6 separate regions of the Homo sapiens genome follow, and all the other regions are linked to region 1. The links are contacts of gene promoters, found by promoter capture Hi-C in human tissues and cell types (Jung and others, 2019). All regions are on one chromosome and are shown on one strand. Each heading gives the region's core, a stretch centred on a gene start or on the middle of the fragment in contact. The rest is flanking DNA. Distances are from core to core; before and after follow the strand shown. Region 1 holds the start of IDE (insulin degrading enzyme). Region 2 overlaps CPEB3 (cytoplasmic polyadenylation element binding protein 3). Region 3 overlaps CPEB3 (cytoplasmic polyadenylation element binding protein 3). Region 4 holds the start of LOC107984254 (a long non-coding RNA gene). Region 5 overlaps EXOC6 (exocyst complex component 6). Region 6 overlaps EXOC6 (exocyst complex component 6).

What was found. The method cuts DNA at HindIII sites, captures the fragments that hold promoters and counts their contacts. A contact is called where the count stands out against the background at its distance.
Region 2: a fragment that was not itself captured here is called in contact with the fragment with the promoter of IDE in region 1 in 2 of the 25 tissues and cell types used here (mesenchymal stem cells and spleen).
Region 3: a contact is called between a fragment that was not itself captured here and the fragment with the promoter of IDE in region 1, in 2 of the 25 tissues and cell types used here (bladder and spleen).
Region 4: a contact is called between a fragment that was not itself captured here and the fragment with the promoter of IDE in region 1, in 1 of the 25 tissues and cell types used here (mesendoderm cells).
Region 5: a fragment that was not itself captured here is called in contact with the fragment with the promoter of IDE in region 1 in 1 of the 25 tissues and cell types used here (mesenchymal stem cells).
Region 6: a contact is called between a fragment that was not itself captured here and the fragment with the promoter of IDE in region 1, in 1 of the 25 tissues and cell types used here (mesenchymal stem cells).

What each region holds. Positions count from the first base shown.
Region 1 is chr10:92,572,625-92,577,282 of GRCh38, forward strand. It overlaps IDE (insulin degrading enzyme), which reads right to left and starts at 1,469. Exons shown (of 25, transcript NM_004969.4): 1 at 1,298-1,469. The coding sequence starts at 1,395. RefSeq lists a silencer at 869-1,318 and enhancers at 1,819-1,878, 1,889-2,128. The HindIII fragment of the contact is 24,485 bases long and covers 1-4,658 here.
Region 2 is chr10:92,151,046-92,155,367 of GRCh38, forward strand. The region is part of intron 4 of CPEB3 (cytoplasmic polyadenylation element binding protein 3); the gene reads right to left. Among named protein-coding and RNA genes, the nearest start is that of CPEB3, 140 kb to the right of the region's middle. The HindIII fragment of the contact is 3,217 bases long and covers 504-3,720 here.
Region 3 is chr10:92,254,350-92,258,806 of GRCh38, forward strand. The region is part of intron 1 of CPEB3 (cytoplasmic polyadenylation element binding protein 3); the gene reads right to left. Among named protein-coding and RNA genes, the nearest start is that of CPEB3, 34 kb to the right of the region's middle. The HindIII fragment of the contact is 3,631 bases long and covers 681-4,311 here.
Region 4 is chr10:92,110,944-92,115,503 of GRCh38, forward strand. It overlaps CPEB3 (cytoplasmic polyadenylation element binding protein 3), which reads right to left. Exons shown (of 10, transcript NM_014912.5): 7 at 133-251. LOC107984254 (a long non-coding RNA gene) reads left to right here and starts at 1,440. Exons shown (of 2, transcript XR_001747551.3): 1 at 1,440-3,936; 2 at 4,062-4,560. The HindIII fragment of the contact is 3,715 bases long and covers 550-4,264 here.
Region 5 is chr10:93,005,815-93,010,741 of GRCh38, forward strand. All of the region lies in intron 19 of EXOC6 (exocyst complex component 6), which reads left to right. Among named protein-coding and RNA genes, the nearest start is that of CYP26C1, 53 kb to the right of the region's middle. The HindIII fragment of the contact is 4,871 bases long and covers 1-4,208 here.
Region 6 is chr10:92,929,111-92,933,438 of GRCh38, forward strand. All of the region lies in intron 9 of EXOC6 (exocyst complex component 6), which reads left to right. Among named protein-coding and RNA genes, the nearest start is that of EXOC6, 83 kb to the left of the region's middle. The HindIII fragment of the contact is 4,610 bases long and covers 1-4,193 here.

The DNA of each region.
Region 1 (4,658 bases), core at 219-2,718:
ATTGGGAAAATCCCAACTAAAATTCAAGACCCAGGCCAGCATTACCCTACTGTTATAATACAGGACTTGTGTCCTTCTAATTACCCCAAGGAAATTCTATAAAGCTTCAACCAGACTAATCGGCTCACTGCTCCCCCAACACAAACTGCCCGCATATCTAGGCTGGATTACGCCCACGCCAGCCCTCACTCCAACCTTTCTGCCATTCCTTCCAAAGCCAGCCTACCCCCCCATCTCTGGCCCCACACACTACCCATACTACCCATCTTCTGACCCTCATCAACACACCCTTGTAGCTATCTCAATTCCCGTGGCATCCCAATCCGCTCCAATCAAGTCAAAGTTCCTTGGAAGGCAGACACATACTTTACATAGAGGGTCCAGCACAGTGCCCTGCACTTAGTAGGTGCTGGCTATTACTGATTAAAACCAGCAGGGGTTCAAATAACGTTTCTAGGGAGGGCAAGATAATACTGCCTATCTTCTTCCATTCGTAGTAAAAAGTATTCAGCGTTCACTACAAGCCTGAAAACGCCTAGCGTACGCAGATCAACGGTGCAGTGGAGAGGGCACGCCGCCGGATGGCAAAAAACCTGTGTCCTAATCCTGGTTTTGCCACAATCTCGGCAGTTGCTGGGAAATCAAGCCATCTCTCGGAGCTCCGGTTGTCTCCGACGTAAAACAAGGGAGCTGCTGTAGAGGATCCCGAGGTATCTTTTGGCTCCTAAATGTCCCCCGATAGGAAACCCCACACTCGTCTTCCAAGGCGGGAGGCAGGCAAACTTTTTTCCCAGCGCGGGCATTCCACACGGTCCTGGAAACTCAGTGCCCGGAGAAAAGGGCAGGGCTGAGGGCAAGGTGAGAAGCGGTCCCCCCGAAGTCGCCGGATTCCTTTACCCCACGGCTCGAGTCCGCCTCAGGTTCCCGGCCCCCTCACAGGCGGACTCCGGGAGAGTGACGCGGCGCGGCTCCCAGGTGCAGGCCGGGTGACTCTGTCCGCCCCTGCGCCCCCCGCACTAGTGGCACACGCCCCGTGGCCCCGGGTAGCGGCCCCGGCCCCTCACCAGCCCAAGGGACGTCCCCGACTCTGGACCAGGCCTCTGGCTCCCGCCTGGCGAGCCGCTCTTCCGGGCCCTGGGGCGGCCTCAGCGCGGCAGTACGGGCCCCAGGCCGGCGGGACGGGCGGCGTGAGGGGCAGCGGTGGCGGCTTTAAGTGCTGAATCACCACTTTGCAACCCGAGCGCCAAACCGCTGTGACCCACGGGGCCCGAGGGCCCGGGCGCTCCATTCCGCTTACCCACACAGGCGCTCCGGAGGCGGCAGGCGGGCGCCGAGGACTGAGCGGAAGGTGCTGGGCAGTGCGGGGTGCAGAAGCCACGCTAGCCGGTACCGCATTAGCCAGCGCAGTCGCCGGGATCACCGCAAACGCTTCCTGCTTGCGCTTCGAGCCGGCCCTGCGCACTGCGCATGCTCTAGCCGCGGCGCCGCGCGGTCTCCCGGGAGCTGCGGAGAGGTAGCTGCTCCGGGTTTTGCCTGGAGCCGGATGGGGCCAGGACGCAGGCGAGGACGGTGAAGACCGCGGACAGCCGAGGCCTGAGCAGGCGGACTGGAGGGACAGGGGTTTGGCCGGGGCGCTTTAGGAGCCAGCACCCAGACTTTCCCAGGCGGGGAGGGTCCCAGCTAGATCCCACCGGCCGCACTTGTGAGGGTGGCGACGTGTGTCTGACTGTGAGGGGGCGAGGGGCCGCTCATAAATCCAGTGAGGGCACACGGGGCTATGTTTTCTGAGGCACCCCCACTGACTAGCGTGCCGGACCCTGCAGGTGTTGGAACAAGGTTCGTGGTCGCGGCGGCCTCACGTAAAATGAATCCGCGGCCGGCGCGCGGCCCGCGGGCTCCCTCTAGAGCGCGGTGGGGACGTGGACCGCGAAGGCACAGATGCGCTGGAGACAAGGCTCGAGTGCGGCGTGGGGGAAATTCAGACGCAGGGGTCAGCGATAGAGAGGCCAGGACCCAGGGGGACGTTTCCATCCTTGGGGAAGTTAGCAGCTCTCTTAAGAGGAAGGTGCGGATGGGACGGGCGCCGCAGCAAAACAAGGCTTCAAATCCAGAGTAGAAACTACTACTCTTGTTAGTACTCCGTACTAGGAATACTACTAATGTCAGTCGGCTTCAGTGGTTACTTTTTAAACAAAGAATTTTCTCCCCAGTGGCTTTATGGGGCTTTGCACCCACGAACAACTTAATAGTTGTTATGAATCTAACTTTCCATAATACCTTATGGGAGTCTTTAAGGAAGAATGCTATTAGGGATGGTGACTTGCCAGCTTAAGTACTTTTAGGTTTCTGATTGACAGACGATCAAGACTGCAGCCAAAAACGGTGTCCTTAGTCCAAGTATTGCTTTAAATGGGAATTCAGTAGGAGGGTTCCTTAATCAAGTTGATGCTTTATCGAAGACGTACCCACGATCTTTTTAACAGTGCGGTTTCACCTAAAGGCAAACCTTTGGATGAAAACAGGTAAAAATTATGGCAAGCCTCCTAGTGGTGTTTGCAAGTGCATGGTTTTAAGAACCTTTAAATTACCAGTCCCAATGCAGAGTAGTCAATCACCTTGAAGCAGCTCCTCTGAGAGTGTTAATGCAGCCTTTCTGAATACATTTATGCTCCATTAATGGAATCTATAAATGGGCTGGGGTAGATTCAGACTTGGAGGGCTTGAAACATATACAATTTGGGGGACCTCTTTGAGACATAAAATACAAATTATAAATACAAAATTAGCAATCAGAAGATTACTATAGAGAGAAAATACATCACAACAAATACTCGAGACTTGGAGATTAGTACCCTTTTTTTTCCTGAGATCTCTTTAGGCTACTTATTAGAAATGCTTACATAAAAATGCTTCCAGATGGCCGGGCGTGGTGGCTCATGCCTGTAATCCCAGCACTTTGGGAGGCCAAGCCGGGCGGATAACGAGATCAGGAGTTCGAGACCAGCCTGACCAAAATGGTGAAACCCCGTGTCTACTAAAAATACAAAAATTAGCCAGGCGTGGTGGCATGCGTCTGTAATCCCAGCTACTGAGGAGGCTGAGGCAGGAGAATCACTTGAACCCTGGAGGCGGAGGTTGCAGTGAGCCAAGATCACGCCACTGCACTCCAGCCTGGGCAACAAAATGAGACTCTATGTCTCAAAAAAAAAAAAAATGCTTCCAGACAACAACTGGCTTTCCCTCTACAACTCCCAGTTTGGAGCCTGTGCAAGTGAGCAGCCCTGAAGTTTAAACTTCATTAGCTTCATGATAAATTTCCCTCTGGTTGGAGTAGATGTCCTGGATAAGAAAGATTAATATTAATATAGTCTCATAACTATCATCTCAATAAAGAGGAGGTGGATGGAAAGAAAAGTAACAATTTTGAGAGTCTACTCTGTGTCTGGCATTGTACATGGCTCCTTCATTAGTCATCATGACCACCCTCTGTAATGGATATTTCCTCACCTACCAGAGATGAGGAAGCTGTGGCAGAGAGAGGTTGAGTAACTTGCCAACAATTGGACAAAAAGAGTGGAGTTGTAATTTGAACCCAGGACTGTCTTATTCCAAAACCTGTGATTTGCTCATCTCATTTATGACTTGACAAATATTTGTTGAATGCCTTACAGATACCAGGTATTATAAAGGTGCTGGGAATACAGCAGTGGACAAAAAAGACAAAAGTTTCTGTCTTGATGGAGATTACCTTCTAGCTGTGTGGGAAAAACAGATAATAATCAAGTGAGTAAGTGATATGAAGGAACAGGTGGTCAGGAAAGGCCTCTTTGAGGAAGTGACATTCAGGCAGACCCCAGAATGATGAGAAAAAGTAGGAAATGTGAAGGTCTAGGGTGTAATCTTTCCCACTCTCACTCAAACAAGTATAAGGTGTAAACCACCTAGACAACTTTTTTTTCTTTTCTTTCTTTTTTTTTTTTTGATGGAGTCTCGCTCTGTCACCAGGCTGGAGTGCAGTGGCGCGATCTCGGCTCACTGCAACCTCCACCTCCCGGATTCATGTGATTCTCCTGCCTCAGCCTCCAGAGTAGCTGGGACTACTGGCGCACGCCACCATGCCCAGCTAATTTTTGTATTTTTAGTAGAGACGGGATTTCACCATGCTGGCCAGGATGGTCTCGATCTCTTGACCTCATGATCCCCCCTACCTCAGCTTCCCAAAGCGCTGGGATTATAGGCGTGAGCCTCCATGCCCGGCCTACAACTTTTTTAGAAGCAGAAAAAGTAATGTGCTGAAGTCATTCTTTGCCTTAGATAGGAAAACTAGACACATATTCAAATATAAGTATTCTGATATACTGGAAGCCAAATATTAGTGTTTATCTGTGCTGTAAGTTCCTTCCATTAGCCCAGATAGAATAGAGTTCACCATAGAGCTGAGTCAGGAGTTCCTAATGATTGAAAGAAAAAAACTTAAAAAGGAAGCCCAGTGGTGACAGATTGGCGTTTATTTCCTAATTGGTAATGTTCAGAAAAATAATATCTTTTGTCCCCCCAGATGTTTTAGCAGAGGAAAGAAAAGGAATTTTTTTTTTTTTTTTGAGGCGAAGTTTTGCTCTTGTCACCCAGGCTGGAGTGCAATGGCATGATCTTGGCTC
Region 2 (4,322 bases), core at 862-3,361, 420 kb before region 1:
GGAGATGGCTTAAAACCAAACAAGCTTGCAGGAAAAGTGCCAAATAGAAGACTTGCAAAGCATTAGTTAAGCATGGAAGGCTTGTCCAAGATAATTCCTCCCCAGAAGGCTCCCTTTCCTTCAGCAAATGATGGAAAAACAAAAGCCCATTGGCCAAGCTATGCTGTGAAAGCTGCTGGGACCTCACCTCTGAGCTCCCACCAAGGCCTCTGCCATCACTCCAGCAGCTCCAGGGTACCTCTGGCCCAGCACTTCTACTCCAAGCCTGACTCTTTTCATTTTAGTCTTGTAAGTAGCTCAGCAATCAGTCACTTTGGGGGTTTAAGAAAAAGGAATTATGAGGCATGACTCCCTCATAAAATACATACATATTCCCTAGAAGTCAAGATAGGTTCCAGCCTAGTGTCCAGTAGGTGACTTTGAACAAAAAACATTTCACTTATGGTCTCATTTGCATAATGAGAGAGTTTAACTAGATGGCAGGATTTCAGATCCCCAGGAACAGGAGAATCCCTTTTATTACACAGAAATCTTACCTAAAAATAGATTTACTTCATATTAATATCTGGTATTTCTTAGGCATCACAAACTTAATGTGTTTACAAGTGAACTTTTGATATCTACCTTAAACTTATTCTCTCCCAGTCCCATTTCAATATGTGGCATTACAATTCACCCAATCACTTCAGCCAGAATCTCAAAATCATTTTTGAGTCTTCCTTCTTATTTACCCTCCAAGGTTAATTCAGCAACCTGACACCATCTGTTAAACACTACTGTTGATCCCATTCTCCAAGATCTATCTTTAATTTGTTCACTTCTCTCCAACTCCACTGCCATCACCCTATCCTAACTATCCTCATCTCATGCCTGACATCACCTCCTAACAAGGCAACCCAATTCTCTTTTCACTTCACTCCAAACAGCAACCAGACGTGCTCTTTTAAAAACATAAATCCAATCATTTGACCTTGCTTTAAAGCTTCAAAGATTTCCTCTTGTACTTGGACCAAGTTCAAAATCCTTACCAGGAGCTAATGTCCAGCAAGATCAGATTCTCTTTCCTTCCTCCAAACTCATCTTAAGACATACTCCTCCATCACCTACCAAGCATCAGTCATTCTAGGCTTCCTCAAAGTAAGCCTTTTCTTGCCTCAAGCCTTTTTTTAAAGAAACACGACTTTTTTGAAATATAATTCTCATATCACACAATTGATCCATTTAATCCATTAGCAGTCACTCTTGGTTTTCCCCCAACCTCTCAGCCCTAGGCGACCACTAATCTCCGTTTTGTCTCAATAGATTTGTCTATTCTGGACACTTCATATAAATGGTATCATACAAATACGTGACTCTTGAGATTGGCTTCTTTCACTTAGTGTAATGTTTTCGAGGTTTATGTTGTAGCATGTATCTGTACTTTGCTTCAAGCCTTTTACAAATGCAGTTCCTTCCACCTTCCCCTTTTAAACTAGCTATCTGTCTTATAATATCTGAAATTCCCTTTAAAATATTCCCAGGGAAAAAGGGAAGAGAATATATGAAACAAAACTGGCAAAAATGCTGATAATAATTGAAGCTGATGATGGATATATTGGTGTTCATTAAACTAGTCTACATTTGTATATATTTAAAAATTCCTTAATACCAAAAAGTTTTAGATAGCTATCTCTCCATCCTTTCAGTTTGTTTAAATATCACCTCTTCAGAGGTGACCTCCCCTATTCTTTTCTGCCTAGTATTTATCACAACTGTTAAGAATAAATATATTCGTTTCACTTATTTATTGTCTCTCTCCCTACAAGAGTGACCACTGAACAGTGTCAGAGACCACATCTGGAGTCTAGTACAGTATAGGTATGCAGACACTTAATGAGTAAAATTTGGGTGGAAGGCCCAGAAAATCCCTCCTTCAGTCTTTCTTTTGGCCCCTCCCAGATTAAATTCCCAAGACAGTGAAAAACTAGTCATCTTCCCCTCACTATCATCTGTGCTCAAATTTTCCTATTACTATGAGCAGTAACATTTTCAGATATTACAACCATGAACATTCAGAAAATTCTCCGATTCACGTCCATGTTTTATTCTAGAATCATCCATACCTTTAAACAAGCAAGCTCATACAACTGGGTTTGAATTAGCAGGATGGCGTGCTTCTAGCATGGTCTCCCTGGAATAGCTGATCTCTCTTCCCTCGAGCAGGCTTTTGACAGAAATACTCAACTTTAACTCAGCACACGAGTTTGTTTGATTGGATTTTAGAACTTTTGTTATCAATTATGCAACCCATTAATATCAATATATTTTTTATGAACTAAATATATGCAGGAGTACATTTATAACAGTAACTCTAATCATTCTTTGTATTTTTTCATTTGCATTGTTAAAAGGACCTTTTATATTCTCCTTACTGCTCTATAACTAGGAAATTCTGTTAAACATCAAAAATACTAGCATGGGCTGGGTGCAGTGGCTCATGCCTATAATCCCAGCACTTTGGGAGGCCGAGGCGATCCCCTGGGGTCAGGAGTTCGAGACCAGCCTGGCCAACATGGAGAAACCCCATCTCTACTAAAAATACAAAAACTAGCCGGGCATGGTGGTGCGTGCCTGTAATCCCAGCTACTTGGGGGGCTGAGGCAGGCGAATTGCTTGAACTTGGGAGGCGGAGGCTGCAGTGAGCCAAGATTGCACCACTGCACTCAAGCCTGGGCGATGGAGTGAGACTCCATCTCAAAAAGCAAAAAACAAAAACAAAAATATTGGCATAGCCAACATGTCTACTTATGGACAAGAGTTTCACAGAGACCATAAAAACTCATACTCATGTAAATGAAAAGCACAATATATATTAAATGTGTAGGCAAAAATCCAAAATGACACTACCTGGTAGACTAGTTGTATTTTCTCATTTGCATTGTTAAAAGGACTTTTCATATTCTCCTTACTGCTCTATAACTAAGAAATTCTGCTAAACATCAAAAATACTGGCATAGCCAACATGTCTACTTATGGACAATAGTTTCATGGAGAGCATAAAAACTCATTCTCATGTGAAATGAAAAGCACAGCATATATTAAATGTGTAGGCAAAAGTCTTAAATGACACTACCTGGTAGACTAGTTTCTAACAGGGGTTGCAGTTGTATAGGAGGACACATATTAAAGCTTATCAAAGGCAGAACACTCCCAAAGAAAAATGGTAAGATTCTTTGGTGTGATTCTTATTCCACAAATGAAATCAAGGTTTGTCTACTGGAACAAATTCAAAATAGATATAAATGGGAAATATAATTGGGTATTTTTAAACTATATGTAATTGATATTTATTTTCAATCTTATTCTTTCATGTCATTCTTCTCATTTCTCATTATTACTGCTTCAACTACATTACTAGAAGCACTTGGTTTGCTAAGAGTCTACCTTCAATGTCCTCATCCAAGCCTTGAGCTGATGTTCAAGTTATCCCCTGCTTTCATTACTTTATCATAAAACCCTCTTTCTAAAGCCTGACAATATCTGTGTCCAGGAGTTTCACCGCCTGTTTCAAAAACATTCATTAAGGCAGCATAGATCGTCCTACTACCAGCTTCTCCTCTCCAGCTGGTCCCACAGCATACACTCAGAGATATGTACTCCAAGCCTCTGGTCATGGCAATCTCATCTTTAAGCCTTCTTCTAAGGAGAAACACATACTAGAATGTCTTGCTTCCCATTCCTATTCCATTATCCAAATAGGTCCTGAAATTCTACTCATCCCAGGAAACTTTTCAACACTTATCAGGAGAGGTGTAAAAGTCCACTGGCCAAATTCTTGCTGACAGAACTAAAAACTTTCACATATATTACATTCCCTTTATTTCTGTTCCTAGAAAATTTACCAACATGGCCAGATGTGGTGGCTCATGCCTGTAATCCCAGCACGTTGGGAGATGGGCAGATGGCTTGAGGCCAGGAGTTCAGGACCAGCCTAGCCAATATGGTGAAACCCCATGTCTACTAAAAATACAAAAATTAGCCGGGTATGGCGGTGCATGCTTGTAGTCCCAGCTATTTGGGAGGCTGAGGCAGGAGAATCACTTGAACCCGTGAGGCGGAGGTTGCAGTGAGCCAAGATTATGCCACTGTACTCCAGCCTGGGCGACAAAGTGAGACTCTGTCTCAAAAAAAGAAAAAAGTTTACCAACATGTTTATGTAACACATAGAAAATAAGTTATAACTCCAGTTCTATCCTTAATCATAGGTAGAGGGAAGTAACATACATCAGCAAGCTTAATTTTTATTCTTTTTGGGCAAGTCTAAATGTTAATTAGAGGAAAGG
Region 3 (4,457 bases), core at 1,246-3,745, 320 kb before region 1:
AAAAGCTAAGGCAATTTACATGCAGGAAGTCCACATCTTCTGAGTGATGATCTGTTAAGTAATTCTAGACATGACTAAGTTTGAGAACAGAATAAGAGAAAAGGGAGCAAAAAGGTAGCCAGGTGAGCTAGATGTAGCTTAGTGGACAATCTGGAGAGCACCTTGGGTTTTTTTATGTTTCTCACTCTCTGTTTGTTAGTCTTGGGTTAATTCGTTTCATTCATTCCATAATTTTATGAAGGGCCTCCTGGCCACAAAGTAGCAATTCCAATTTTACCTCCCTTTTTTATAGACCTTGTCTCTAACATTTTTCTTTTTATACAGACAGAGTCTTGCTCGCTCAGTCACCCAAGCCAGAGTTCAGTGGCATGATCATACCTCTCACTGTAGCCTTGATCTCCTTGGCTCAAGAGATCCTCCCACCTCAGTCTCCCAAGTACCTAGGACTACCGGCATATACCACCACACCCAGCTAATTTTTCTTTCCTTTTCCCTTTTCCTTATTTTTTTATTTTTTATTTTTATTTTTATTTTTTTTTCTGGCGATGGAGTGCTGCCACATCACCCAGGCTAGTTTCAAATGCCGGGCCTCCAGTTATTCTCCCGCCTTGGCCTCGCAAAGTGTTGGGATTACAGGCATGAGCTGCTGCACCCAGTTCTCTTGTCTGTAACTCCTAAGAGAATACTGAGGCTATTAGGTAGTAATGTCTCCAATTTCCCTACTGCCCACCAACAAGCCCTCCCTTACAAACTTACCTGTATTCCCTTTCATATTCCCTTTCCTCCTTTCTCAGAGGAAGCTGAGTCTCCCTACAAGACCACAATTAATCCCTCCTTCTGTGGTCTAGAACCCATTCCTTCTAGTTTCCTTGAGACCTAGCTCATTAATTTAATTATTCTCAGCTCTCTCATTCCCATTCCTGGCAGGCTATTTGAAAGAAACTCTAGATCTTAGTTAACTTCCTTACTTCCAGTTAACTCCCCAACTTACTGCAGTCTGGCTTCTGCCCCTACCATTCTACAAAAATTGCTCTTGGTACTGACATTACCAAAGTCACCAATGACCAACTAACACTTTTCAAGTCCTATTTTCTTTGTGCATTCTTCATAAAACACTTCTGATAAGAATTTAAGATGCCTTCCCAAGATTCCAGGCTAGAAGCTAAAAAAGAACCCACATCCTATAACTGCAATTCTTCCAACAAGAAGGCACTTGAAGATGGATTTCTCCCAAGAGCTTCTAGATGAGAACTCCGCAGGGCCACCATCTTGATTTCAGTCTATTAACACCCTGAACAAAGAACCTAACCGTGGTGCACCACACTTCTGACCTATGGAACTGTTAGTTAATAAATGTTGTTTTAAGCCATTAAGCTTGTGATGATTTGTTACACAACAGTAGCAAACTAATACAACACTATTCCATTTTCATTTAAGATACTGCTCTCCTGTATCTTTACTTATCTCTTAATGTTTCTTCTCAATCTTCTGCCCCTAAATACAGTCTCCCCCAGGGTTCTCCTAATTCTGCATACTCTCCCTAATCAATGTTATATTCATAAAGTTCACCACTGTTTAGGTCTCCGGATGAAATGTTTTTAAGCTACAGACTGCTTTTAACTATTTCTCTATCAGAAGATCCTATTAGCACCTCTTCTCCCATAAATTTGCTTGTGCATTTATATTTGGTTAACTTATCCTATTTAATGGCACCACCATCAGTGTAGTCACACAAGTTAGGAACCTGGACATGATTCTTCCCCTTTTCCCTGAGAGACAAGTCCAACTGGTTGATAAAACTTATTAATCCTGCCTCCTAAATTTCTGACTGACATCCTATCGTCTCCATTCACAACCAGTATAATACTGTACCTGAACTACAGCAGTGATCTCCTAATGTCTCTCATCTAGTATTCTTCCAAATGTGGCCTCCATACTAAATCCTGAGTAATCATTCGAACATAGTTTTACCATGTTATGCCCCTTCCTAAAACTCTCCAATAACTTTTCCCTTGCCATGAGGATAAAATACAAACCTTTTTTCTTTTTTTTTTTTTTTGAAACAGAGTCTCACTCTGTTGCCCAGCTAGAGTGCGGTGGCGCATCTTGGCTCACTGCAACCTCCGCCTCCTGGGTTCAAGCAATTCTCCTGCCTCAGCCTCCTGAGTAGCTGGGACTACAGGCACGTGCCACCACACCCAGCTAATTTTTGTATTTTTAGTAGATGGGGTTTCACCATGTTGGCCAGGATGGTCTCGATCTCTTGACCTCGTGATCCGCCCGCCTCAGCCTCTCAAAGTACTGGGATTACAGGCATGAGCCACTGTGCCCAGCCCAAACTTAACTCTTCTACACGTACTCTTCCCAGCCATGCCAACCTAACTCAAATGTCCATTATTTGAAGCTTTCCTTGACCATGTAAGCAGAATTGCTGATTCCTTCCTTTATACAACTTTGTAAGACACATATATCTCTATTACAGTATTTATTCTTCATATTTCAGTGTAATTATTTGTTTACACATCTGCCTTTCCTAGAAGACCTCCAGGTTTGGGACTATATTCATCTTTGTAACCCAGGTACTGGGCCTAAAACATAGAGATACTGGATAAAAGTTTGTTTATCAAATCAAAGAACAGATACCTTTTATCCCAATTTGTTGAAATGTAAAGCACTTCTTTAACATTAGACAAAGAGAAGTTCTATGGATTCTATTGCCATAGAATGTGTTCCAAAACCCTATGCTTAATAATACAAAGTTTAATGTTTATGAAGACATTCCATATTGAAATTCAGTATAATTTACCTTTCTCCTGTTGGAGGATATTTGATTTGTTTCCAAGTTTTCACTATTTTCCAAACTGACTGTTTCCTTGAGCCTTATTTCTAAAGAAGAAATTGCTCAATTGGAAGGCATAACATTGATTTTGATACATATTAACAAATTATTTATTTTATTTTTTTTTTAAGGCAGGGCCTCTGTCTCCCAGGTTGGAGTGCAGTGGTACCATCAGAGCTCACTGCAGCCTCAACCTCGCAGGCTCAAGTGATCCTCCTGCCTCAGTCCCCCAAGTAGCTGGGATTACAGGCTTGGGCCACCACACCCAGCTAATTTTTTGTATTTTTAGTATAGATAGAGTTTTGCCATGTTGCCCAGGCTGGTTTCAAACTCCTGGGCTCAGGCAATCCTCCTGCCTTGGCCTCCCAAGTGCTAGGATTACAGGGGTGAACCACCTTGCCAACAAATTGCTTTAGAAAGCTTGCAGCAGTGTATACTTCCACTAGAAATTAGCTTCTACATAAAAACAATGTATAAATAGTATAAAAAAACAGAATCCGGTTCCTGATAATGTAATAATGTAGAAAAGGACCTCAACTCTTTTTTTTTTTTTTTTTTGAGATGGAGTTTCACTCTTGTCACCCAGGATGGAGTGCAGTGGCACAATCTCAGCTCACTGCAACCTCTGCCTCCTAGGTTCAAGCGATTCTCCTGCCTCAGCCCCCTGAGTAGCTGGGATCACAGGCGCCCACCACCATGCCCAGCTAATTTTTGTATTTTTGATAGAGATGGGGTTTCGCCATGTTGGCCAGGCTGGTCTCACACTCCTGACCTCAGATGATTCGCCAACCTCAGCCTACCAAAGTGCTGGGATTACAAGCGTGAGTTATCGTGCCCGGCCTCTCAACTCTTTCAATATGCCAAATAATATTAAGTCCCTTTTAACATCCTAATATATGTATTTTTTTCTTTCCTTTTTTTTTTTCTGAAACCAAGTCTCGCTCTGTCACCCAGGCTGGAGTGCAATGGTGTACCATCTCGGCTCACTGCAACCTCCACCTCCCGGGTTCATGCAATTATCCTGCCTCAGCCTCCTGAGTAGCTGGGATTAAAGGCACCCGCCACCACACCTGGCTAATTTTTGTATTTTTAGTAGAGACAGGATTTTGACATGTTGGCCAGGCTGGTCTTGAACTCCTGACCTCAGGTGATCCACCCTCCTCAGCCTCCCAAAGTGCTGAGATTATAGGCGTGAGCCACCGTGCCTGGCCAACATCCTAATATATTTAATACTTTGTCATTCTTCTTCATCATACCATCATATGATAATGAAATAGTGCAGATAAATTAAATACTTATAGCTGATGTTTATTAGCTGGAGATTCCTTTTCAGATTATGACACAAGTATACATGTGTGCATATTCCATAGGAATAGGAGAAAAAGATGAGTAGCCTTCATCTATGTTCAGTTTCCAGACTTCAATTATATTTTTTGAATATATATATATATATATATATATATATATATATATATATATATATATATATATTTCATGTATTTGTGTTCATCTTAGGTCAAAAAATGTTCACTAGATCAGATATTTTTATATAAATTTTTTCTTTTTTAAACAGAGTCTCTTGACTCAGCTTCCTGAGTAGCTGGAACTACAGGCACCC
Region 4 (4,560 bases), core at 1,157-3,656, 460 kb before region 1:
CTACTGCATAGCAAGGCCAAGCTGGGTAAGAGGATCCTAGTTACCAGCATTTCCATTATCAGAAAGAGGAGGTCAGCTATTCCAATAGCATATGTGCTCTGGAAAAGCAACAGCTGGCCATGTATTACTTACTGGCTTGTCCTTGATGGTGGGGCTTGACACACACAGGTAGAGTTTCCCATCTTCTTCTAGGCAGGCATCTATCAAAGCTTGTACTGAGCTTTCCTCTTGGAACAGCAGAAAGGCATAGCCTTGGGGAGAGCAAAAACAAAAGGGTAGAGGAAGAATCAGTACATTAAACTCAAAGTACCAATTACAAATTATCTGTTGTTTCATTTTGGCAAATTCTTACTAAAATCTAAGAAGTTCAAGTGGGACAAAGGGACTTTGTCCAGGAACTAAGTTAGGTGCTCATTGATATTACCTTGTTTAATTTTTACAATTACTCACAGAAGCAAGTTTAGAACACATCTATGGAATTTCCACTAAATACATCTGGTTATCCTTAATGAGGGCAAGTGGACTCACCATTGGCCTTAGCCACAACTAACAAGTAGCCAGGAAACAAGCACCACCTGCTTTCCAATTTCTACAAAGCTCTAGGCTGGCCACATGCCACAGGGATAAACCTTGAAAATATTATGCTAAGTGAAAGAAGCCAGACAAAATATGTCCAGAACCAGCAAATCTATCAAGACAAAAAATAGATTAGTGGCTGCCTAGGATGGGGAAGCTGGAGGGAATAGGCACTGAGTTTCTTTTTGGGATGATAAATTTTCTAAAATTGATTGTGCTGATGATTGCACAACTCTGTAAACATGCTGAAAACCACTGACATGCACATGTCACATTGGTGAGTTGTATGGTATGTGAATGATATTTTAACAAAGCTTTGTTGACACACAAACACACACACACAAAAAGCTTCAAAAAAGTTTTTAAAAAGGCCAACAATAAGCTGGTGTGCTTTTGCCTGCTATTTCTGATGATGGTGCTCTGCTTCTCTAAGAGATACCCTCTTGGCAGAGTACAGTAGGTCTAGAAAAATGGACATTAGCTGCAGGATTTCCATAGACACAGCCAGTTTTTTTCAGTTTAATTCCATAAGATTTACCGAGTAACTGATACAAGTGGGACATATCCATGGTTTATGAGAATACTAAAATAAGCAAGACCACGTTCCTTTTTTTTTTTTTTTTTTTTTTTGAGATGCAGTCTTGCTCTGTCACCCAATCTCAGTGCAGTGGCACAATCTCTGTGGTATGATCTCGGCTCACTGCAACTTCTGCCTCCCGGGTTCAAGCAGTTCGTGTGCCTCAGCCTCCCAAGTAGCTGGGATTACAGGCGCCCGCCACCACATCCGTCTAATTTTTGTATTTTTAGTAGAGACAGGGTTTCACCATGTTGGCCAGGCTGGTCTCACACTCCTGACTTCAAGTGATCCATCTGCCTCGGCCTCCCAAAGTGCTGGGATTACAGGTGTGAGCCACCACGCCCGGCCCCAGGTTCCTCTTGTAAAGAAACTTATGAAGTAGATGAAACAAACATTTAGACAATTAACTACTCACTACAAAGCTGAGGGAGATAAGTGGGGACAAAATGTGTCACTGAAATCACAAGGAGCAAAGGCCCAACTTGGGAGAATCAGCAAAGACTTTAAAGAGAGCAACAGATATTCAAGGGGCCACCTGTGGCACTTGTGGCCACACTGGCATTCATAAATGATGACAGAGCAAAGGCCCGTCATGAACTAGTCTAAGCTTTCAACTTCTCTACAACCCTGCTAGCTTTGCTAAATCTCTCAGCTGTCATTCCTCAACTCCCAACTCTGCTACTAACCTCAAAGGAAACCATCATCAACACAGTTCTTCTCTGGTACATTGCATATCAGAAGAATGTAAATGGCAGAGAAGGATAAGAATCCCCACATACAGAAGATTCTCACACATCAGAGGTGTTTAATTCATAATCAACTGGCTAAGAAGCAAAGCTCTCTGGAGTCCTGGGCAACATGTAATGACAGTGGCAATGGATAATGGCTATTCGTTTTTAGCCTTTTCTCCAACTCCCCATCTACTATACAGAGCATCCAGGCAAATATAGCAGAAAAAAAGACCAGCCACTCCCTAGCATAGCAGGCAGAAACTAACACACAGGAAAAGGCACCAAATTGAATGGGCAGCCATGTAGTTGCAAGAGAGAGACTGCCAAGGTTTTAGGACCAAGAGCTGTTTTCTGGGCTTTGGTCTCATGCTGCATAGGTCAGAAGATTCTGTTGATGGCTAGTCAGGAAAAATAAAACCTGACTGCAAAACTAGAAAAGACAATACATACATCATTTCTTCATATCCTCTTTTGCAAACAGTATTGAACTATCACCAGGTGCCAGGGAATCTTAAAAATTCAGTGTTTTCACTTAATATGAGAACATTAATTCTACTTACTAAAGATAATATTAGAGATAAGGTGGGTTAAAAAGTCCAAATATCACAAAGAGGAGGTCTCAGCAGGTTCTTTCAAACCTCCTCTCTTACCAAGTTAAATACTGGTACAGATATCCACAAAGATCATAAGCATATTGAACACCCTGCAGTCAGAGTACTCCATCTATGTATATATTGTATTATGTACACATCAAAAAGGCCTGGTGATAGGGAATGCCCAGTGAGTTGGGGCTTTCTCTTATTCCTTGCCTCAAGAAGGCCTCCTGGCTGACTCCATTTTTCCTTCACATCACTGCCCACCCTCTGCAATCTTCAACATCAAATCCAGTTTTGCATTGACCTTGGGCATCCAAAGAAAAGGCGGTTGTCTCCCTATAGCAGCTGAGCAGCTCCCACAAAAGCACGCAGATTTTCACTTAGGCCCATCTCACAGCCATAAAATATCTACACTGGCAGTAGATAGAGTAAAAACAACTGGGAGTCACAAGTAAAAGCCTGCTACAAATACTATTATCAAGAGAAATATCTATAAACAATTTCTCCTTTCCCAGGAAATGGTCCATAACAGTTTACCAATTTCTTTAGGATGGCTCTTTTACTATAAATAATCCTGTGTCAAAACAATTATCTTTACTCTGAGGTCACCAAGCTGCCATTTTCTGTAATGGCAATATTCTCTCAGCACTGTAGATAAGAGACATGGCTAAACTCCCCCCAACCCCCCAAAATCTGGGCTGTAGTTCAACAATTTCTTCTAACTCTACTTCCCACTTTAGGCCTTCCAACCAAAACAGAATTCACCGGAAACACCCAAAATCACTCTTGAAAACAACTTTATGATATCTTCACCTGCTAAAACACCTTCTGATACTTCAAGGTCAAGCAAACCCAGATGACAACAGAAATCAGAGGATTTTTTAAAATCAGGAAGAATCTTTCGAACATATTTCCCTTTTGATCTTGAAAAATTTAAAGTCAAAGTAAACAAAGTAGAAAAAGATCCCTTCAAGAATAACAAGGTCAATGTGAGGCGGAAATCCAATCAATGATTTACTAAAAGGTAAATTGCACATGGTACTAGGAAGTGTTCTGGACTAGGAGACAGAAGGTCTAGATTCGGGTACAAGTCCTAACATTTAGTAGCTATGTGATAATAACAGCTAATAGCTAACATTTGTTGAGATTTACTATGCACCAGACACTGTTCTAAGTGCCTTGTGGACATTAACTCATTTCATCTTCACACACACCCTATGTGGTAAGCCCTATTTTGAATTCTGCTTTATATTTAAGGAAATTACACAGAGTGATTAAGCGACTTGTTCAAGATCACCCAGTAAGTGGTGGAACCATGAACTTGAATATTAACATTTCTGAATCCTGGCTCTCTTCTCTGTCAAATGAAGAAACCAAATATTTGTCCCAATTACCTTACAGAGATGTAGGTTGTAAGATAACGTATAAAAAGGTGTTTCATAAACTAGGAAGTCATGTGAGTATTGATTTTTCTTTTACTGCATTTTCAATTATTTCTGTAATAGATAAAATTAAAGTTGAGTTTTTGCATATGGTCTCATTACAAACATTAGAATTCAAATTAATAATATGCACTTTCAGCCGGCAGAGCCGCCTGGCAGCTCCTCCTCTTCTCCGCCCCGGCGGCCGCGGGCGCGGGGGACGTCAGCGCTGCCAGTGTGGAAAGAGCTGCGGGGCGCGGGAGGAGGAAGTAGAGCCCGGGACCGCCGGGCCACCACCGACCGCCTCAGCCATGGACGCGTCCCTGGAGAAGGGAGTCTCGGTCTCTTGCCCAGGCGGGAGTGCAGTGAGGCGATCTCGGATCCCTGCAACCTCCGCCTCCCGGATTCAAGTGATTCTCCTGCCTCAGCCTCCCGAGCAGCTGTGACTACAGGCGTGTGACACCACACCCGACTAATTTTTGTATTCCCAGTAGAGATGGGGTTTCACCACGTTGGTCAGGATGGTCTCAAACACCTGACCTTGTGATCCTTCAGCCTCAGCCTCCCACAGTGCTGGGATTACAGGCGTAAGCCACTGCACCTGGCCGGGACTTAGATTTATATTCCCTGAAGTAATACAGGGCCTTAGATGGAATGAA
Region 5 (4,927 bases), core at 523-3,022, 430 kb after region 1:
AGTAGATAAGTTTCTTAATGTGAAAGCCTTGGTCTTTCTTAATTTTTGGATAAAAACTTAACCTGCTGGGCACAATGGCTCATGCCTGTAATCCCAGCACTTTGGGAGGCCACGACTGGAGAATCGCTTGAGCCCAGGGGTTCGAGACCAGCCTGGGCAAAATAGGGAGATTTCATCTCTGCAAAAAAAATTAAAATTACTCAGATGTGGTGGTGCACATGTGTAGTCCCAGCCACTCAGGAGGCTGAGGTGGGAGAATTGCTTGAGCCTGGAAGGTCAAGGCTGCAGTGAGCCGTGATCATGCCACTGTACTCCCGCCTGGGTGACAGAGTGAGACCCTGTCTCAAAAACAAAACAAAACAAGAAAGCTTAGCCAAAAAAGAAAAAAAAAAAGGATGCTGTTTATAGAGTTTTAGCGACTATGACCTCTAATTCTAGCCTTGAAAAAGGGCTGTGCCCCATAATAAAAGTATTAAGGCAAAATCATCTGGATGGTAAGAGAAGAATATTTCAGTGCCTTTTTAAAAAGTAAGCTGGATGCTGTTACACTGTTTGGATACCTGAATTTGTTCCTGGTTTGGATACCTGAATTTGATACCTAACCTATCTGATGGAGGATACTTTGCCCAGGTTTAATTCCAAGAAATGGAGAAAACTAGATACTACTTTATATAAAAATGAGGTGATGAAGGTAGAGTAACAGTTGGTCCTCGAGGTTTGCATCCCACTGTTGCTGACCGCATACAGCAGAAAATACATCTAAAAGCCAAGAATCCTAACTCTCCTGATTCCCAGGCATAAGTTCTTCACCACCAGAAAAACCACTAGATGGTGCTCTTAGTCATTCCTTCTAACGACACAGCTGGTTCACATGGGATACTTTGTTTGTCTAATAACAAAGTTTGTTAAACAAAACTTGAGTTCTTACTAGCTACTTTAATATTCAGATCTAGATAGAAATGAAATTACAAGAAGTATCTTCAAATAGAATGAATATTGGCATTCATATTCAGCCATTTATTTAGTTACAGAATTATTCCATTTTATATGCACCTGTGTGGTCATTTGCAAGCAAGATCTTAAAACTTTAGCTTAGCCTCCTCCCCTTTCTTTCAGTCTTTTGTCAAGCTTCTGATGTATTCCCTCTTATGACTCCATGGGCCCTTTTTCTCCCCCACCCTCTTTACCCCCTGACAATTCTTCCTACCCTGTATGGATGTTTTCTATATCTACATTGTAAACAATCTACATTCTCTGCCTTATGATAAAGATAACTGTCTGCCTAGAACAAGATTTTTCAAGGACTTCTGAGTTTAATTCCCTCTGAGTTTAATTTCAGAGTAGGTTTTATATTTTCCAGTCAAGATAAATACTTATGGCCTGACATCTTGGCAATTTTCCTTCCCCCCTCGTAACAAACCCTTTACATTTTGCATAGATCCTGAGGGGAAGGGCCTGTTTTCCTACTCAAAAATTTTTTTTTTTTTATATATACAAATAACTCATGTTTTGCCTACAGGTATTCTTTGTTCTCTTAAAACTTCATAGATTGCCGGCTGGGCGCAATGGCTCACATCTGTAATCCCAGCACTTTGGGAGGCCGAGGTGGGTGGATCACCTGAGGTCAGGCGTTCAAGACCAGCCTGGCCAACATGATGAAACCCCGTCTCTATTAAAAATACAAAAAAATTAGCTGGGTGTGGTGGCACATGCCTATAATCCCAGCTACTCTGGAGGCCGAGGCAGGAGAATTGCTTGAACCCGGGAGATGGAGGTTGCAGTGAGCCGAGATCACACCACTGCACTCCAGGCTGGACAGCAGAGCGAGACTCCGTCTCCAAAAACAAAACAAAAACCCAACTTCATCGATTGCCAATTTGGAAGATAGTTTTGTTATAATCACAGCTTACCCCGCATACATTATTTTTTGTTCCCACTTTCATCTAAATTGATTCAAACTAGTCTTCTTCCAAGTTAGGCTGATATAGCAGAGTTTTACTCTATTGTTATAATATACCTTCCCAATAAGATCAGACACCTCCTTCTCTAATCTAAGAATATTTGAAAACTTGGAATCAGGCCGGGTGCGGTGGCTCACGCCTGTAATTCAGCACTTTGGGAGGCCAAGGTGGGCGGATCACCTGAGGTCAGGAGTTTGAGACTAGCCTGGGCAGCATGGTGAAACCCCTTCTCTTCTAAAAATACAAAATTAGCAGGGCCTGGTGGTGCATGCCTGTAATCAAAGCTACTCAGGAGGCTGAGGCAGGAGAATCTCGCTTGAACCTGGGAGGTAGGGGTTGCATTGAGCCAAAATTGTGCCATTGCACTCCAGCCTGGGCAACAGAGTGAGACTCCATCTCAAAAAAAGAAAAGAAAAGAAAATTTGAAATCATTTATTATTGCAGAAAATAAGAGGAAATGAATATCCTGAAGTTATTTTGTTTATTAAAAAGGAAATAGTCAAATTGGAGGCATTAAGAGAAAAAAACAAAGATTTGGAATCTCTTAAAAAAGAACACTTCATAGTCTGGAAATGATTTTTACATATCTTATTGGGAAACCAGGATCAATGTGTGTTATTTAAAAATACCCTTAAAGGCATGGCTAAATGACAAAAACAAAGACACCATAATAGGGGGGGAAGTGGGCATTATTGTTTTTAAAATTTTAAAGATGGTCCAAGGGAGGAGAATTAGGAATCCCCAAAATATGACAAATTATATACAAAATGAGAATCTGAATGAGCCAAAAAGTAATTTGACGATAGTACTTCTAGAGATTTCAAAAATTAGTCATCAATTCTTTAAAAATTTAAAAGATTAAAATTGACCCCATGAATTATTGGGACCATAGACAATATTAGTAGAAATGATTTGTATTACTATTTATTCATTCAACACACATTTATTGACTGTTTCCTAGGTGACAGGTATGGTGTATGTAACTACTTCCCAGGAGCTTCTTGTTTAGTGGAAGAGCTCATGATTTAGTTTTAATTGAAGAAACTATTAGGAGTATTTTCACCCACCCTAAATTACTTTTATATAAATACACTAAGTGTATACAGTTATGTTCTTGATTTGCACTGTTAAATAAATACATATGGCTAGGAAATTTAAATTAAGCTGGATGCAGTGCCTCATACCTGTAATCTCAGCACTTCGAGAGGCCAGGGCAGGACGACTGCTTGAGGCCAGGAGTTTGAGACTGGCCTAGGCAACATAGTCCCCCTGTCTCTACAGAAAATAAAAAAAATAACCAGACATGATGGCACCTGTAGTCCCAGCTACTCAGGAGGCTGAGAGGGGAGGATTGCTTGAGCCCAGGAGGTTGAGGGAGGCTGCAGTGAGCTGTGATGGCACTCCAGTCTGGGCAACAGAGTGAGACCCTGTCGCAAAAAAAATTAACTAAAATAAAACCAAAAATTAAGTTTAGCATGGATATTACATTTCATTATTGCAGAACATTCTCTTGGACAGCACCATTCTAAATCTAATCAACAAGCTACATAATATATCACTATCCAATACTGGATGACATTCCTTAGAATTTATTTATGGTTCTGTTTTTCTTCATTCATTTAAGAAACTTTCATTGAATACTCATTATAAGTCAGGCATTGCGCTAGGTGATAAGAATGTAGAAGTGAAGTTACCGTCCCTGCTCTCAGGGAGTTCATGATTTAGTGGGAAGACCCAGACAGATAAACAATTACAAGGCAGCAAAGTGAGTGCTGAAGTTAGGCTGTGCACAGGAAGTTGCAGTGAGAACACAGAGAAAGGACATAAGCCAACCTGCAGGGATAATGGAAGTCTTCCCAAGGAAGACGATGATTGAAGGATAAATAAGAGTTTACCCAGATGGAAAATAAGAGGAAGGATGCTGTAGGCAGAGGGATCAAAGCATCATGGAAAGAGAGTGGTATATGCATGGAAGTACAGGTAGTTTGGTGTGGTATAGAAACTAAGGTGCCCCTAGGGAAATGATGAGATGAGGCTGGCAGATAGACAAAGGCTAGATTGCAAAGGACCTTAGCCTTGTTTTATTTGAAGATGATGGGGAACTATTGAAGGATGTTAAACTGTGAGGTGGCACAAGTCACATCTGTGTAAATCCTACTGGAAGAAGTGGATGGAGAGGTTGCACCAGAAGCAGGGAGATCAGATAGGGTGTGTTTCAGTAATCCAAGCAAGAAATGATGATAGTTTGTACTAAGGTAGAAACAAATTCAGACTCAGGAGATATTTTGGGAAGTAGAAACAACAAGATTGACTGCAGTTGAGTTTTAAAGAAATAAAGGGAAAAATACGAAGCTGTGAATCAATAGCATATCATTACGAATGTCCTCTGTGCCAGATGATTATCAGATCACTAAATTGCCTTCTACCCCTAAAAAAATTTGAGAAAAAGCCCTGAGTGTTATAATCTAGTGAATTTCACTTCCATATTGATTAGATTCTTATGAGAGATGTGATAAAAGATGAGAGACTGAATACTTAATCAGATTCTGGATTAATGGAGTAAATGCCAGAAAACCTGAATTAGTTATATAATCCCGGGCAAGTCACTTTCCTTTTAATTTTTCTGCCCTGTAAAATGAAGGACTCAGCTGGGTGTGGTGGCTCACGCCTGTAATCACAGCACTTTGGGAGACCGAGGCAGATCACTGGAGGTCAGAAGTTTGAGACCAGCTGGCCAACATGGTGAAACCCTCTCTCTACTAAAAATACAAAAATTAGCCGGGCATGGTGGCATACGTCTGTAATCCCAGCTACTTGGGAGGCTGAGGCATGAGAAACGCTTGAACCTGGGAGAAGGAGGTTGTAGTGAGCCAAGATTGCGCCACTGCACTCCACCCTGGATGACAAAGCAAGACTCCATCTCTTAAAAAAAAAAAAAAAAAAATGGACTCGGCAACTTTTAAACT
Region 6 (4,328 bases), core at 639-3,138, 360 kb after region 1:
AATAAGAGATTGTCTCCCTTGTAAGCTGAGACTCCAAAGGATTTAAAGCCCCATTATTAGGATGAGCTAGAGATAAAACCATCTAAAAATCCTTCTGTTCCCTCTGGCGAATACTGTAAGGAAAATTACCTATCTCAAATCTTGCTGAGTGAACGAGAGAAAAAATCCTTCTGAGAATTCATAATAAGCAGTTTGTTACCACTTGTGTTTGCAACCCAAATTCATCATACATGGATAGTCAAAGACATCTCAAGCTCAACATTTCAAGTATTTCCATCCTGATACTATCTCCAAGTGCCTGGCAGAAGCAAATACAGATCTCTGCACCTTCATTCCAGAGTTAAACTGAGCAATTCACAGTCAGAAATAATTACCAAACGAGTGAGAATCGTAAGAAATATTAACAACAAAAATAGATTCTAAAAGACTCGATATTTGAATTATTAGCCATAGAGTATATAATAGTGCTACTTAGTATATTTAAAGAAATAAAAGCCAAGCTTGCTAATATAAATAGGGAACAGAAACTATAAAGAATGACCAAATAGATGTGAAGAAATATCAGGTAGAATATCTAGAAATTAAATACATATTAACTGAAGTTAAAAATATTATGAATAGGTTTAACAGTTGATGAATTCTCTCTTAGTTAATCTGAAGAAACTATGTGGAAGTAAGCATCACAAAGACACAGAAGGAAAAATTACTGAAGTGAGACATGAGGGATACAGAGAAGTCTAACATATATCTAATTGGAGTTTCAGAAAGAGGATAGAGCAAATGAGACTGAAGAATATTTGATGCCATATGGCTGAGAATTTTCTGGGACAGATGAGAAATAGAAATCCACAGAGTCAAGTCCAAGGAATCCCAGGTACCTTAAATAAAAAGAAATACACTCTTAGAAACTTTATAATTAAATTGCAGAACACCAAAGATAAAGAGGAATGGAAGACCTGAAAACTATTATCAGCTGTCTTGATCTGATTGACATTTATTGAATACTCCACCCCGGATGGAAGAATACACACGCTTTACATGTGCACATGGAAGATTCACCAATATCATATTCTGGGCCATGAAACAAACATCAACAAATATAAAAAGCTGGGCTGGGTGCAGTGGCTCACGCCTGTAATCCCAGCGCTTTGGGAGGCTGAGGCAGGCGGATCACCTAAGGTCAGGAGTTTGAGACCAGCCTGGCCAACATGGTGAAACCCCATCTCTACTAAAAATACAAAAATTAGCCAGGCATAGTGGCGCGTGCCTGTAATCCCAGCTGCTCGGGAGGCTGAGGCAGGAGAATCACTTGAACCCGAGAGGCAGAGGTTGCAGTGAGCCGACATCGCACCATTGCACTCCAGCCTGGGTGACAAGAGTGAGACTCTGTCTCAAATAATAATAATAATAATAATAAATAGAAAAAGCTTGAAATCATACAAAGTCTATCCTCTGACTGCAAGAGAATTAAATGATCCATATGCAAAAAATGAATATTGACTCACTTCTTTCAACAATTAAAGGGGATCATCGACCTAAATGTAAGAGTTAAAATTGTAAACTTTTAGGAAAAAACAAAGGATAAAATCTTTATTACTCTATAATGTATTTATAGTATTTTCCTATGTGAGTTACATAAAGCATGAGCCATAAAAGAAAAAAAATAGATGATTTGAACATCAAAATCTAAAACTTCTGCTTTTCAAAAGGTGTTGTTAAGAAAATGAAAAAGCTGGCTCATGCCTGTAATCCCAGCACTTTGGGAGGCCAAGGCGGGCGGATCATGAGGTCAAGAGATCGAGAGCATCCTAGCAAACATGGTGAAACCCCGTCTCTACTAAAAATACAAAAATTAGCTGGGAGTGGTGGCGTGTGCCTGTAGTCCCAGCTACTAGGGAGGCTGAGGCAGGAGAATCGCTTGAACCTGGGAGGTGGAGGTTGCAGTGAACTGAGATCGTACCATTGCACTCCAGCCTGGCGACAGAGCAAGACTCCATCTCAGAAGAAAAAAAAAAAAAAAAAAAAAAAAGGAAAGGAAAAGGCAAGATATGGACTTGGAGAAAATATTTGCAGAACTCATGTCTAAAAAGGGGCTTTATCCAGAATATGTAAAGAACTTGTATAACTCAGTAATTGAAGACCAATAAACCAATTTAAAAATGGACAAAAGATTTTTTTTTTTAGTGTAGTACTGAGTTTACTAGAATAAACAGAAAATAGAACAGAATAGATGATTGAGAAACAAATTTAAGTGTATATAAGAACAACTGTCAGGCTATTTTTTTTAGTTGACATATAATAATTGTACATATCTATGGGACATAGAGTGATATTTTGATACATATATATATAATGTGTAATGATCAAATCAGAGTAATTAGCATATTCATTGTGAAAAACTATACTGAACATCTTCTCACATGTTTATTTGCCATCAGTTTATCTCTGGTAAAATGTCTATTCAAATCTTTTGTCCATTCCACGCTCTAGGAACAAAGCTGGATGGAGAATGGACAAAAGATTTGAATAGACATTTTACCAAAGATAAACTGATGGCAAATAAGCATATGAGAAGATGCTCAGTATAATTTTTTCGTCAGGGAAATGCAAATTAAAACCACAATAAGATACCACTGCATACTTACTAGAATGACTAAAATTGAAAGGATTGATAATAGCAAGTGCTGGTGAGGATGTGAATCAAGTGGAACTCTCATACACTTCTGATAGATATAAAATTATACTGCCACTTTGGAAAATGGTTTGGCAATTTGTTACAATGTTGAGCAAACTCTTCTATGACCTAGCAGTCCTGCTCCTAGGTATTTATCCATGAGAAATGAAAATGTATCTTTATACAGTGGCTCATATGTGAATGTTTGTAGTAGCTTTATTATAAACACCAAAAACTAGAGACATCTGAATGTCTGTGAACTAGTGAATAAATTGTGGTACATCCATATGTATAAACAAATTATTGTATGTTTTATATAATGGAACTACTCGGCACTAAAAGGGAATTGATACATGCAGTGATATGGATGAATCTCAAAAGTATTATTCTAAGTGAAAAAAATTCATATGCAGTAAAGTTATATATAATATGAGTAATGTTATATGACATTTTTGAAAAGACAAAACTCTAGGACAGAATGGGATCAGTGGTGGCCAAGGGCTATGGGTTCGGCAGGATAATTCTCTACAAAAGAGCAGGAGGAAACTTTCTGAGATGGAAATGTTGTATTTTTTTATTTATCTGGTGGTTACACAACTGTCTACATTTGTCAAAACTCAGTGAACTCTACATGTAAAAAAGGGTTAATTTTATTATATGTAAATTGTACCTCAATAAACTTAACTTTAGAAACAAACATAAACAGAAAATCTTAAAGGTACCCAGAAAGAGGTTATTTTCAAGTAAACAAAACAATAAAATATTTTCAATTCTGAAAAAAGTAACTGTCAACTTAGGATTCTATATCCAGTGAAACAAGGGCAGAGATAGACATTTTCAGACAAAGAAGAGCAGAGTTGGCCACTAAGACACGCTTACTAAGGAGATCCTAAGGATATGCTTCAAACAAAAGGAATGTGATGCCAAAGGGAAGATGTGAGATGCAAGAAGGAATGAATAGCAAAAAAAGTATAAATATTTAGGTAAATCTAAAATGACTGTAGGAAATAATGTAAAATATTGTGGACATTAAAACAACATAGAATTTTAATTTGTGCAGCAGCAATAAGAAAAAATAAGATAGAATTAAAATACACAACAGTAACATAAACATCAGAATGAGATGGAAGTTAGTGAAATTAAACTATCCTACAGTTTGAAGCGTCCAGCAGAAGAGTAAAAACATTGACTAGCTTTAGAGTTTGGTTACTTAAGGATGTGTAATGTGATTTCCAGAGTAACTACTGAAGGAATAGAAACAGGGTATATATACTTTTATATAATACAGGGAAAGCTAGAATGATAAGAATAAAATTTTTGTTATTTGTGTGCTTTTGAGTTGATAAAAATGGTAATTCTAAACCTATAAGCACTTGATAACATTGACTCAAAGTATTTAAAGCAAAACTGCCACAACTACAAGGAGAAATAGAAAAATCCACAAGTATAGTGAGTTTTAAAATATGTGTCAGTATCTTCTAAACCAAGTAGACATAACATCAGTAAGAATACAAAACATGCTTAATAGGCTTCATCTAATGGAATATATAGAATCCTATTTCAACAACTGTAGGAACATATTCTTTTCAAGCACACATGGACCATTATTAAAAATTTGACTACATACTATGCTATAAAGCAAGTATCAGGAAAT